Linked DNA regions of Homo sapiens: all the other regions are linked to region 3. Evidence: promoter capture Hi-C in human tissues and cell types (Jung and others, 2019). All regions are on one chromosome and are shown on one strand. Each heading gives the region's core, a stretch centred on a gene start or on the middle of the fragment in contact. The rest is flanking DNA. Distances are from core to core; before and after follow the strand shown.

Region 1 (4,713 bases), core at 54-2,553, 140 kb after region 3:
TAATGCTTCTGCTTTAATCATTGTTTTTAAAAAATTGACACATAATAATTGTACATATATTTGGGGTACATATGATAGTTTGATACATGCGTACAATGTGTTCATTACATACAAACTAGGGTATTTAGAATATACATCACCTCAAACATTTATCATTTCTTTGTGACGGGAACATTTCAAATCTCTCTAGCTGTTTTGAAATATACAATATATTGTTGGTAACTGTAGTCACCTTCCTGTGCTATTAAACATGAGAACTTATTTTATCTAACTGTATATTTGTACTTTTTTTTTGAGACAGAGTCTCACTCTGTCGCAGGCTGGAGTCCAGTGGCATGATCTCGGCTCACTGCAACCTCTGCCTCCCGGGTTCGAGCAATACTCCTTCCTCAGCCTCTAGAGTAGCTGGGATTACAGGCGCCTGCCACTACGCCTGGCTAATTTTTGTACTTTTCGTAGAGACAGGGTTTCATCATGTTGGTCAGGCTGATCTCAAACTCCTGACCTCACGTGATCTGCCTGCCTCGGCCTCCCAAAGTGCTGGGATTACAGGGATGAGCCACCGCACCTGGCCTATTTGTACCTATCAACCCACCTCTCTTCATCTGCCCCCATTCCCGGCCTCTGGCAACCATCATTCTACTCCCTACCTCCATAAAATCAACTTTTTTAGCTTAGAGTTTTGAGCAGGGAAGTGGTTGATCTGATTTATAGTTTGTAGAGAGTCTACTCTGGCTACTGTGTGGAGAAGACATCACAGGGGGCAAGAGTGGGGACGTAGGAAGATCATTCAGGAGACTAACATGGTTATATCCAGGTGGGAGACAGTGGTGGTTTGAACTAGCATGTTAGATAAGAGATGGTCAAACTGGATGTATACTGAAGCTGGAGCTGCTAAGATTTGCTGATGTGGGGTGTGCAGTGTGAAGGAAAGAGAATAGTCAAGGATGACTCCTTGCTTAAGGTCTAAATAACGAGGGGAATTGCTGCACAGTTAATGAGGTGGGAGAAAGTTGGGTAGGAACACTCCATTCTGGAGGGAAGTCAAGAATTTTTTGACACAGTAATTTTGAAAATCCTGTAAGACACCATTCCCCAGGCTTTTTGGCACCAGGGACCGGTTTCATGGAAGACAATTTTTACACACACTTGAGGTGAGGATGGTTTGGGATGAAACTGTTCCACCTCAGATCATCAGGCATGAGATTCTCATAAGGAGCATGCAACCTACATCCCTCACGTGCAGAGTTCACAATAGGCTTTGTGTTCCTATGAGAATCTAATACGCCTGCTGATCTGACAGGAGGCGGAGCTCAGGCGGTAATGCGAGTGATGGGGAGCAGCTGTAAATACAGATGAAGCTTCGCTCATTTGCTCACCACTCACTTCCTGCTCTGTGGCCCGATTCCTAACAGGCTGTGGATCAGTACTTGTCCACAGCCCAGGGGTTGGGGGACCCTGCTAAGACATCACATCAATGTGATAACTGGGGAGTGGAGAGAAATATTTGAGAGTCATCAGCACATGGATGGAACAGTGCTGGCTGAGCTCCCCTGGGGAAATAGTACAGATGAAAAAGAATGAAGGCCGGGCACAGTGGCTCACGCCTGTAATCCCAGCACTTTGGGAGGCCGAGGTGGGCAGATCATGGGGTCAGGAGTTCGAGACCAGCCTGACCAACATGGTGAAACCCCGTCTCTACTAAAAATACAAAAAAAATTAGCTGGGCATGGTGGCGCACGCCTGTAATCCCAGCTACTCAGGAGGCTGAGGCAGGGGAATCGCTTGAACCTGGGAGGTGGAGGTTGCAGTGAGCTTAGATCACACCACTGCACTCCAGCCTGGGCAACAGAGCAAGACTCCATCTCAAAAAAAAAAAAAAAAAAATGAAGACCCGAGACCAAACCTGGGGGCTCTCCAACATCTAAGGGTTGAGCAAAGGTGGAGAGGCCAAGAAAAGAACGGAGAAGGAGCAGCCAGTGAGGGGAAGAAAACCAGGTGAGTGTGGTTGACAGATGAAAAAAAGAGAATCTTAAGGAAGCAGCCAACTGTACTGGATGCTGCTGAGAGGCTGAGTAAGGTGAGGATGGGTAGATTCCATCAGGCTGGAAGGCCACCGGTGACTTGCCAGGAGCATCTGCCATGGCTGGAGAGAAGGGAGGCCTGCCTGCAGCAGGTGGACCAGAGGCTGGGGTGGAGGAAGTGGCAGTGTGTACACACTCCAGCAGGCGAGGTGACTGAAGGAAGGCGGGTTGACAGCTAAGTAGGAGATAGTAGAGACGCATTCAGATGATCAGGTCTACAGGGAGATGTTGATGACAGTGCTGGGAACAAGGGGGTAACCACAGAAACAAAGTCCTTAAGGCTGAGCGTTGTCAGATCACGCCTGGAACCCTAGCATTTTGGGAGGCCAAGGTGGGAGGATCGCGTGAGTCCAAGAAGTTAAGACTAGCCCTGGCAACATAGTGAGACCCCATCTCTATAAAAAATTAGCCAGGCATGGTGGCATGTGCCTGTTGTCCCAGCTACTCAAAAGGCTGAGGTGGGAGGATCTCTTGAGCTTGGGAAGTTAGGGCTGCAGTGAGCTGTGAGCACACCACTGCACTCCGGCCTGGGTGACAGAGTGAGACCTTGTCTCAAAAAAACAAACAAAAAAACCAGCATTACTATGTAAGAACTGTATGTCTGTGTATGTGTGTTTGTGCCTGTGTGTATGTCTGTGTGTGTGTCTGTGTCTTTGTGTGTGTGTGTCTCTGTGTGTGTGTCTGTGTGTTTGTGTCTTTGTGTGTGTGTCTCTGTGAGTGTATGTCTGTGTGTGTGTTTCTTGTGTGTGTGTCTCTATGTGTATGTGCCTGTGTGTGTGTCTGTGTGTATGTGTGTGTGTCTGTGTGTGTCTCTGTGTGTGTATGTGTGTGTGTGTGTGTGTGTCTCTGTAGGTATGTGTCTGCGTGTTTGTGTCTATGTGTGTGTCTCTGTGTGTGTGTGTCTGTGTATCTGTGTGTCTCTGTGTGTCTATGTGTATGTATCTGTGTATATGTGTCTGTGTGTGTCTCTGTGTATCTGTGTGTGTGTCTCTGTGTGTCTATGTATATGTATCTGTGTATATGTGTCTGTGTGTGTGTTTCTGTGTGTCTATGTGTATGTATCTGTGTATATGTGTGTGTGTCTGTGTTTGTGTATCTGTGTGTGTGTCTGTGTGTGTATGTGTCTGTGTATGTGAGAATGTGTTTGTGTGTATGAGTGTGCTTGTGTGTGTATTGTTTGTGCCTGTATGTCTGTGTGTGTGTGTTTGTGTGTCTTTGTGTGAGTGTGTGATCTTTAGCCTTTGTGTTCCTTCAGCCAGAAAGTGGTAACATGTTCAAATTATTTTTTTAGTTCCTTATTTCTTGTTAGGTCCTAACTTAGTTTTTTAAATACAATTTTAATAGAAATATTATATATACTTGTGATTAGTATACTTTACATATTGCATACAATTATATATATAAGTATATGTAAGTAAAGTATATTAATCCTTCAATACTTAAAGTATATTAAGTATACAGCTGACAAATTTTCATAAAATGAACATCCTCATATACCAGATTAAAAAATAGAATATTCTAGCACCCTGCTGCCTTGTATCTCTCTCAATCATGACTGTTTTAAATAAAAAACAGCTTGGAGATACATAGTTCTCTGCACAGAAATTTACTTATGAGAGAGAGAGCGAACTGTTGTCTGTTGACAATTGTCAATAAAAAAGCAAACACAGGGGTTTGAAGAAGAGGGGGTGCAGGGTGAGGTGGGGGAACTACCTCTTCCTTTCTGCAGGTTCATTCATGGGCTGGAATCTGTTGTGGAGGCTAGCCTTGTGGTCTGACCTGGAGAAATCTGGCCTGGTCATCAAGGGGAGCACCCTGAGTTGTTACAGATTTATGGTTTCTTGAGTTATTTATGGATTCTCCAAAAATCCAATGCAAGTTTTGTCATGAAGCTATCTGCAATGTCTGCTACTTGACAAATCTCCCCATTTCCCTTATTAAAATTTCTTACATTGAGCCAGGTGCGGTGGCACATGCCTGTAATCCCAGCACTTTGGGAGGCCGAGGTGGGAGGATCACCTGAGGTCAGGAGTTTGAGACCAGCCTGACCAACATGGTGAAACCCCGTCTCTACTAAAAATACAAAAATTAGCTGGACATGGTGGCGGGCACCTGTAATCTGAGCTACTCAGGAGGCTGAGGCAGGAGAATCACTTGAACCCAGGAAGGAGAATCACTTGAACCCAGGAGGTGGAGGTTGCAATGAGCTAAGATGGTGCCACTGCACTCCAGCCTGGGCAACAGAGCGAGACTCCCTCTCAAAAAAAAAAAAAAAAAAAGTCCTTACATTGTCAGAATAGTTTACATGTTTACATTTTGTATTGCGGTTCGGTTTCAGAGTTGTTTCTGGTTTGCAGCCATTACCAGTAGTCCTGTTATGAACATTTTTGATCCTGTCCTTGGTGTCTGCACGTCTGCATTTCTGTTGGGTGTATACTTAGGAGTGGAATTGCTTGGGCACAGTGTGTGTGTGTGTGTGTGTGTGTGTGTGTGTATTCATCAGCTGCTTATTTCTTTATACTTTATGTCATCATTTGTATCCAAGTACCCAATGCAATACAGCAGGCCTTTAAAAATGTCATTTTGTTCAGCGGTCATTTTGCTATAATGTTGATGAGAAAAAATAGTT
Region 2 (4,651 bases), core at 1,681-4,180, 200 kb before region 3:
CATCTCAAAAACAAACAAACAAACAAAAGAAAACATTGATGATCCCAACACCCAGCCCCCTGCCTTACCCATGTCCTGCCATTCCCACATCACCAATGGTGACCACGTGCCCCTCCACACCTCTCTTCAGACTCTAACCAACACTGCACATGCAGGTCTCTCTCCTCCTTTTCTTTCCGTCCTCCCTCCCTCCTTTTCCTTAAGTGGGACCATAGTATATATACTCCCTGCTTATTTTGGTTTGGCTTTTCACTTACCAAACTCAGAAGCAGCTTGTCTTACTAATTCTTCAGACCTCTGCTCCTGTGTTGCAGCCTCTTGGAAACCTCTGAGCCCTTGGCTGACTCAGACCCGTCTGTACTACCTGCAGTCATTAGTGATTTACAGCATGTGTCCCCTCTCTCCTATACTCTTAAGTCCTATCTACCTTTTACCCTTTTTTTTTTTTTTTAAAGAAACAGGATCTCATCACTGCCCAGGCTGAAGTGCAGTGGCACAATCATAGCTCACCGCAACGTTGAACTCCTAGGTTCAAGGGATCCTCCCATCCCAGCCTCCCAAGTAGCTGGGACTATAGGCGTGAGCCACTGTGCCCAGTCCTATCTACATTTTTAGCTCCAGTTCCTAGCCCAGTACCTGGCACACAGATGATATCCACTATCTGTGCTGGCATGGATGAAGAAGAGAACAGATGAATGGGAAAACTTGAGGACAAGATGGTTTTGAAGGCAGATAGGCACTGATGAAGGACAAGGCATTTCTCCATTGATACTGAATTAAGGATGACACAGCGGGTACAGAGACAGACACACAAGAATGTAAAGAAAAAGGGGCCAAGAGATTTAACTAGCTTACCTCAATGAACCATGATAAGGGAAAGAAGAAGTAAAAACAATAGCCAGATAGAAATATTCTTGATAAACAGCATGATAAATAAAGGAACTGGCATAGTTCCTTCTTTGTTCCAGATTAATTGCTTATTCTTGTGGTAAAAGATTAAAAATAATTCTCTGAGAGACAAAAGTAGCTCTAAAGTCTGTTAAATAAACAAGACTACTTAGAACTCAGTTTCTTACCTATGTTTTATAAGGTTCAAAAGAGCTAATATGATAAAAAGCATGTTGGTCAGGCACAGTGTCATACATCTGTAATCCCAGCACTTTGGGAGGCTGAGGCAGGCAGATCGCTTGAGTCCAGGAGTTTGAGACCAGCCTGGGCAACATGGTGAAATCCTGTCTATAAAAAATAAAATAAAAATTAGCCAGGCATGACGGCGAGTGCCTGTAGTCCCAGGTACTCAGCAGGCTCAGGTGGGAGGCTCACTTAAGCCTGGGAGGTGGAGGTTGCAGTGAGTGCCACTGCACTCCAGCCAGGATGACAGACCAGACAGACCCTGTACCAAAAAAAAAAAAAAAAAAAAAAAAGAAAGAAAAAAGAAAAAAAGCAAGCCAGGTGCGGTGGCTCACACCTGTAATCCCAACACTTTGGGAGGCTGAGGCAGGCAATCACTTGAGGCTGGGGGGTTGAGGCCAGCCTAAGCAACATGGTGAAACCCCGTCTCTACTAAAAAATACTAAAATTAGCCAGGCATGGTGATACACACCTGTAATCCCAGCTAATTGGGAGGCTGAGGCAGGAGAATCACTTGAACTCAGGAGGCGGAGGTTGCAGTGAGCCGAGATCACACCATTGCACTCCAGCCTGGGCGAAAGAGCAAGACTCCATCTCAAAAAACAAAAATGAATTAAACCCCACATCTTATCATAGCTGGCATTTATAAAGGACTCACTAGTACTAGTCATTGTGCCACCTAACTGTTCTCACTTAGTCTACAGAACAATCACATGTACTACTAATTGCTATCCTCCTTTTAGAGTGAAGGGAACTGAGACTTAGAGAGGGCAAGCAGCTCTCTAAGTCACCCAGGCTGTAAGTGGCAGATCCCAAATTGTGCCCCAGGACTGTCGGACGCCACACCTGTGCTGCATGCTACTACTCTTAACCAGGGTCCTGCCCCACCTCCCTAAGAAGATCACATTCAGATGAGCTGAAGGCAGATCCAATGGTCGTCGATTGAGACAGCATTAATGCAATGTCAGCTGGGTTGATTTCTAACCACATCACTGAAACACTACTAAAATCACAATAAACGTGCTTAGACAACATTACGTAATAGTCAATATGCTGAGAAGCAAGACTGTACATCCACCCGAGTCATTCAGAATTCTTAGTCTGGTCTTTCACAATTGGCGCCCTCTGTCAGACTCAGACAAGGCTCTATTTTGAATTCTAATGAGGACCAAGCACACTGAATATTTAAACTGCAATTACAAAGATCCTACTTTTATGTAAATGTCCTTAATGGAAGTAACAGATCTGAAAATACATAGAGGTACCAGTGGAAAAATATCAGTCTAATTTGCATTTAGAAGCTAGAAAAAAAAAAAAACAGTATTGTTTTCTACTTGATGCTATCATTGGGGTGGGGTTGAGGGAGGAAAAGGGAGGAAAATCCACACAAAAATCTCGGTAAAAATTTTAAAGCCTGTGCTCCTGAGTGAAAGGTTCACAAAGAGGTACTTGAATCCCTTGTTAAGAACTGAACAAACAAATTCATCATCGGGCCTCTCTCCTGTGTGGCCCCTTGCAGTTCAGTCTGTATTCATAACTAGAAATTCTCTCACTGCTCAAGCATCTATGACTGATACATCGGCCCATCAAGGAAGATATGCCAAGGGTAGCGAAACAAAAGGCCATTTCATGATTCACAACCTATTTTTACACTCCTTTGTGTAAAATGATGATGTGGCGGCTGCTATCCACACTGCACCCAAGTCCTCTTAAACAGTGATAGAATTGCCCTGTGAATGGTAATTGAGTTACACTCCACTGGGCTGCTTAATTCCCACCCCCTATAGTTAAAGTACACCTTGCTTGCAGTTTGATTATGCATTTGTATGTGTTCATATATAAAACAGCCAATGTGGCTTTGCACTTGAGAAGAGCAGGTGGTTAACTCTTCGCTGTATCTCGAAGCTCTTGCACCAACCCTCTGCCCCTCAAACGCCTTTCTTATTAAGATCATAATTTAACTGCCTAGCATTTGGGCATTCTCTTCAAGATGCTAACATTTATCAAATGGATTATGCTTTTTTTTTTTTTCTTTCTTCTGGTTTGTCCTCTGGTTGATTCTTTCTTCTGCTGATACCAAATATGTTCACTGGATTTTTTAATTTCAGTTACCTGTTATTTCTAGAAGTTCTATCTGGTCCCTTTTCAAAATTTCTGTGTTACTTATTATAGTTTTCGGGTTTCTTAAGATGCTTTCAAGCTTGTCATTTTTAAAATATATTTTAAAAAGTGGAATTGAGTTTATAATCAACGTCTGATAATTCTACTACTGCAATTCTGTTCAGATTCATGTCCATGGTCTATTGCTGGTCCTCACTCATGCTGTGCTGTTTCCGGGTATGCTAGAATATATTTGACTATGTGCTGGTCATTGCCCTTAGAAATTTATTTTTAGTTGGCTCCTAGCATCCTAGAATATGCTTTCCTCCAGAGGCATTTCATTTGTTTTTGCCAGGCACCTCGAGCTATAACAGGTGAGTCTGCCTCAAACCAAATTCATGGTATGATGTTTCCCGGTCTACCCTGAGTATGTATGTCCAGGGGGCAAATTCACATGTGGGCCTTTCTGTGACCACAAGTTGTCAATACTGTATTTTCCCTCCCGTCTTTTTCTTCTCCTATTCTGCTCAGTGCCAACGCTGCCCTTTCCACAACCCCCCATGGTAAGTTTAGTTCTGGTTCACTTTTACTCTGAGGGTGTAGCTCTTTGGGGTCCCAGTTTCTTGTGGGAAGGGTCTCCCATGACATTTCCTAATTAGAGTGGGTGCCCAGGGACTAAATTTCCACCCCATTTGCCTGCCCCTCTCAGGCTACAGAAGTGTCTGGCTTTATCAGATTAAAAAAATTATTTTTATTTTTATTTATTAATTTTTTTTCTGAGATGGAGTCATGCTTTTTTGCCCAGGCTGGAGTGCAGTGGCATGATCTCGGCTAACTGCAATCTCTGCCTCCCGGGTTCAAGCGATTCTCCTGCCTCAGCCTCCCAACTAGCTGGGATTACAGGCACGCACCACCACGCCTGGCTAATTTTTGTATTCTTAGTAGAGACAGGGTTTCAACATGTTGGCCAGGCTGGTCTTGAACTCTTGACCTTGTGATCCACCCGCCTCGGCCTCCCAAAGTGCTGGGATTACAGGCATGAGCCACCACGCCCAGCCCTCATTTTTTTTTTTTTTTTTTTTTTAAGGAAAATACTGAAAAGTGGGCCAGGCGCGGTGGCTCACGCCTGTAATCCCAAAACTTTGGTAGGCTGAGGTGGGCAGATCACCTGAGGTCAGGAGATCGAGACCAGCCTGACCAACATGGAGAAACTCTGTCTTTAACAAAAATACAAAAATTAGCCCAGCGTGGTGGTGCATGCCTGTAATCCCAGCTACTCAGGAGGCTGAGGCAGGAGAATAGCTTGAACCTGGGAGACGGAGGTTGCAGTGAGCTGAGGTCATGCCATTGCACTCCAGCCTGGGAAACAAGAGCAAGAAGACTCCATCTCAAAAAAAAAAAAAGAAAAGAAAAGAAAAAG
Region 3 (4,470 bases), core at 505-3,004:
TTCAAGATCAGCCTAGGCAACACGGTAAAACCCTGTCTCTACTAAAATACAAAAAATTAGCTGGGCGTGGCTGCGTGCGCCTGTAGTCCCAGCTACTCCAGAGGCTGAGGCAGGAGAGTTGCTTAAGCCCAGGAGGTGGAGGTTGCAGTGAGCCATGATCGCGCCATTGCACTCCAGCCTGGGTGACAGACAGAGCAAGACTCCGTCTCAAAAAAAAAAAAAAGAAGAAAAGAAAGTTATGCTTTCAAAGAATGTCCAATGACATAGAGAAATGCTGTTTATATTATATATATATATAAAAATATAGATTAAAATAACAAATTCATTGTAAAAAAATCATTAATGGCTATTTCCAAATTATAGAGTTAAAGATGCTATTTATTTTCCTTTTTGCAAATTTTCAATATTCTCTAAATTGAATATTCTCTATCAAGGGGTGTATATAACTGTTAAAATTAGGGATTTTGGGGTTTTTTATTTTTTTTTGAGACGGAGTTTCGCTCGTGTTGCCCAGGCTGGAGTGCAATGGCACGATCTCAGCTCACCACAACCTACACCTCCCGGGTTCAAGCGATTCTCCTGCCTCAGTCTCCCGAGTAGCTGGGATTACAGGCATGTACTACCATGCCCGGCTAATTTTGTATTTTTAGTAGAGACGGGGTTTCTCCATGTTGGTCAGGCTGGTCTCGACCTCCCGACCTCAGGTGATCTGCCTGCCTCGGCCTCCCAAAGTACTGGGATTACAGGCGTGAGCCACCACCGCGTCCGGCCTAAAATTAGGTTTAAAAAAGTAAATGCTAAATTAAATAATTGGCCCAAATAACCTAGATTCCAGGTAACTCAACTTTGTTCTTGGAATCCATTCTTCTAATATCCAGGATGTGGGCAACTTAAACAATTATAAACTATATTAGAAATAACAACATAAGACACATATTCCAACAAGAACGTTATAGAGCTGTAATATGTTTTTAATTATTAAGCAGAAAGGTCAAGTCTATGTTCAATAACAATACGTTCCTTGGGATCAAACAATATGTTCCTTGGGATCAAAAGTTGCATCTTTCATCATGCAGTCCTTGGGATTAACTGCTAAATAAATCACCCTTATCAGCTATTGTTTTACTGCAGAAGCTACTGCTAAAGGAAAAGACTTCATGATATTAACTCAAGAAAGTGCAAAATGCCTTATAAACAAGTGCACAATTTCCCTCCCAGGTTCCTGTATCTGGAAGGGCCCCCAAGATCTAGGTCTTAGCCCCAGCTGGTTACTAACTGGCTGGTGGCCATGGATTCTGAACCTCGGTTTCTCCACCTGTGAAATAAGGGGGTTTACCGGGATGGACTGACATGCTACAAAAACGTTATTTCGACTTCACTTTTATAGGAGTCCAGGGAAGCCTGCACCAGCCAGCTAGCTCCAAAACCAGGATGGGCGGGAAATCCCCGCAACGAGATGCAGCCCAGAAAAGCTAAAGGAATATTCAGAGATTTGGCGTAAGTCCTCAGCTCTCCAGCGGACCACCTGGTCTCCTTCCCGGGCCACCCTTGCAAGGACCAAGTGTGGCGGGATGTGGCTGAGCCCCCTCAGTAAAGGAAAGGTCTCGCTGCCCCTCCCCTCATCCCGAAAGGCCACCAGCGGCAATGCGAAGTGATTGCCTGCTCTCCGGAAGCCCGGCCTCCCCGAAGGTCCCTCCACGCACCGCCGCCCTCACCCGGGACTCACCAGGGGTCCGGTGCCATCCTGCAGACTCCGCCCGCCGCTCGGACTCTTCCTGCTCTTAGCAGCTGACTACGGCGGCCCGCGCGGCTCACTCCCCGCAGTTCGTCCCGTGCGCGACCGGAGCCTGGAGTTTGCAAAGTGAGTAGCTAGGGCCTCAGAACTATAATCAGAGAAAGCAAAGCGCTCCCCTGCGGACAGTACACTGGAGCAATCTACTCCCACCAAGAGACGCGAACTGCTAAGCTCAGTTAAAATTGTTAAATAGAAACAAAGCATTTTCCCAGGAAGGTGGGAGCGCTGCAAGACCTCTCTGTAGCAGTTACTTAAAAATTTATCCTGCTTCAAAAACAAAACAATAAACAAAACACTAGATTGCGGTGAGACTTGCACGCTGCGTAAACTCACTACAACCTACTTTAAGTTAACTTTATGATATGTAAATTATACCTCAACGCTTTTTAAAAAATCTTTAAAATTTTTTTCACACTGCTCCAAACAGGGGCCCAAAGAAGTATCAATTATATATATTTTTTATAGCAGCCTTCCTATCAGTCCTGTACGCCTGATTACATATTTTTTAAATGCCATTCATTCGGTGCTTGATTTTAGAGTTACTAAGAAGTCACAGACTCTACACAAGGGGATGGAGGAATTAGTTCTGCGCAGTTAGTGCCATCCCCTAAATTTCCAGAGAAATAGCACAAAAAAAAAGAAGAGGAGTCCCACCCCATCTCTCTTCCAGTCCCCATACCCCTTCATTTCCAAGAATGCTAATGAACTCGAACTCGGCAGGCTGGGTTTCTGCGCGGGCGTGGAGCTGGAGCGCATGCGCTCGTCCGTTACCATAACGACCAGAAGACGCTGCAGCCACTAGGGAGGAGAGCAAAGTAATCAGAACCTCCCAAGGATGGATAACAAAATTTCGCCGGAGGCCCAAGTGGCGGAGCTGGAACTTGACGCCGTGATCGGCTTCAATGGTGAGGCCTCCAGCATCTTTGGGCTGGCTGGTTTAGGAATTCGGAGGACGTGTAGTGCAAACAGGAATAGTGAGACACCGGGGACACCTGAAAGGCAGTGTGGGACAACGGCAGGAGCCCTGGCCAGGGACACGCACAGGAGGACCCGCACAGCCTGACCTGCCCCAAGGCCTTGGAGAGTCACTTCCTCGATCCAAGCCTCAGGGAGTGAGATGGTTTTTACCAGCTCGGACAAGCGCCAGCACCTAAAAGGGACCAAATGCCTCTTCCCCAGGCGGGCCGGATGAGTACGGGTGGTTGTAACCCTTCTCCCACTAGGTCAGCCCTTCCTGGCTCTGAACCCCACGCCGCTCGCAAAGCCCTAGGCTCCTTCGTAACCACACAGAAGGATGCTGTCTGTGTCGGCCCCTGGGACCAGCTAGGAAATCTGCTAAAATCCCAACTGGCGTACCAGTGAGAAAGGGCTGGGAGGGAACGTGTGTTTGAGCAACCCCCTGAGGGGATGTTGTTGGTCCTCTAATCCTAAGGAAGGTTTCTAAATGATGAGGATTTCAGACCAGGACAGAAGGGGAAGGGGACGCCAGGGGGAGCTAAAGCGGAGAGAAAAAGGGACTGGGCCGCTCCGCTGAAATCTTATTTGTGACTGCCTATTGTTTTGAAGATTCTGGGAAGAAAAAGCTGTGGGGTTTTATTGTTCGTTTTGAGGGGTTTTGGTTTTTTGAGGGATGAGAAAACAATGAATTAGATTTTAGGAGAAGCAAAACTTTTCAAAAATGTGTGTTGTGATGCCTGAAAGCTTTAAGAATGTGGATGCAGAACAATCACTGTCTAAAGTTTTAAGCATACTCTAGGACTTAGCTCTTGACTCTTGGTTTAACTTTAACAGTCTCCAATAGAAAGTGAGTGCTTTATACATTTCGGATATCAGATATCTTGAGAGTTGGTTACAAGATCATTGAGAAACAATTGAGCAGCCTACAGTGGGTTGCATAATGTCACTTGTTGAGCCAATGTAGAACCACACACATAGAACTCTGCAACTGAGGCCGGGGGCAGTGGCTCATGCCTGTAATCCCAGCGCTTTGGGAGGCCAAGGCAGGTAGATCACCTGAGGTCAGGAGTTCGAGACCATCCTGTCCAACATGGTGAAATCCCATCTATACTAAAAATACAAAAATTATCCGGGCGTGGTGGTAGGTGCCTGTAATCCCAGCTACTTGAGAGGCTGAGGGAGGAGAATCACTTGAACTTGGGAGGCAGAGGTTGCAGTGAGCCAAGGTCACGCCACTGCACTCCAGCCTGGGGGACAGAGCGAGACTCCGTCTCAAAAAATAAATAAATAAATAAACAAACAAACATACATATTCAACAGGTTATAGGAGGAGCTATGAATACTCATGAAGGTGGTCCCAACACATGTGTATTGAACAAACATTGATGTAATATATCACTCATATTCACCTTGGGATGGAGACCTAACATTTAAATGTATTACAATTAGGTCCTATATGTCAAAAGGCCTTTTCAGGACATGACGGCACGTTAAGTGGGAAGCCTCAGTAAACTGGCCAGAGGTAGTCCGTGGTGAGTGGTCTTCTTGCCAGGAGAACATTACTGAAATCACTCTGTTGTCCAATCAAAATTGTTCTTATGGCGGGTTGAACAGGGCTTCAGTTAGTAAGTGCCTATGAACTGGACAGGTTGCAGTTGTTTTCATATTGCTTATCTCAAGATAAGTGCTTGTTTAGCTGCCAGAGAAAAAGAAAAACC

The links. Contacts are between HindIII fragments. The study calls those that stand out against the background at their distance.
Region 1: a contact is called between a fragment that was not itself captured here and the fragment with the promoter of STX8 in region 3, in 1 of the 25 tissues and cell types used here (lymphoblastoid cells).
Region 2: a fragment that was not itself captured here is called in contact with the fragment with the promoter of STX8 in region 3 in 1 of the 25 tissues and cell types used here (mesenchymal stem cells).

The regions. Positions count from the first base shown.
Region 1 is chr17:9,712,815-9,717,527 of GRCh38, forward strand. The region is part of intron 14 of USP43 (ubiquitin specific peptidase 43); the gene reads left to right. Among named protein-coding and RNA genes, the nearest start is that of USP43, 70 kb to the left of the region's middle. The HindIII fragment of the contact is 7,150 bases long and covers 1-4,713 here.
Region 2 is chr17:9,368,487-9,373,137 of GRCh38, forward strand. The region is part of intron 7 of STX8 (syntaxin 8); the gene reads right to left. Among named protein-coding and RNA genes, the nearest start is that of STX8, 210 kb to the right of the region's middle. The HindIII fragment of the contact is 5,571 bases long and covers 146-4,651 here.
Region 3 is chr17:9,574,066-9,578,535 of GRCh38, forward strand. It overlaps STX8 (syntaxin 8), which reads right to left and starts at 1,755. Exons shown (of 8, transcript NM_004853.3): 1 at 1,727-1,755. The coding sequence starts at 1,743. It overlaps CFAP52 (cilia and flagella associated protein 52), which reads left to right and starts at 2,577. Exons shown (of 14, transcript NM_145054.5): 1 at 2,577-2,700. The coding sequence starts at 2,631. RefSeq lists enhancers at 1,738-1,917, 2,710-2,839. The HindIII fragment of the contact is 7,753 bases long and covers 1-4,470 here.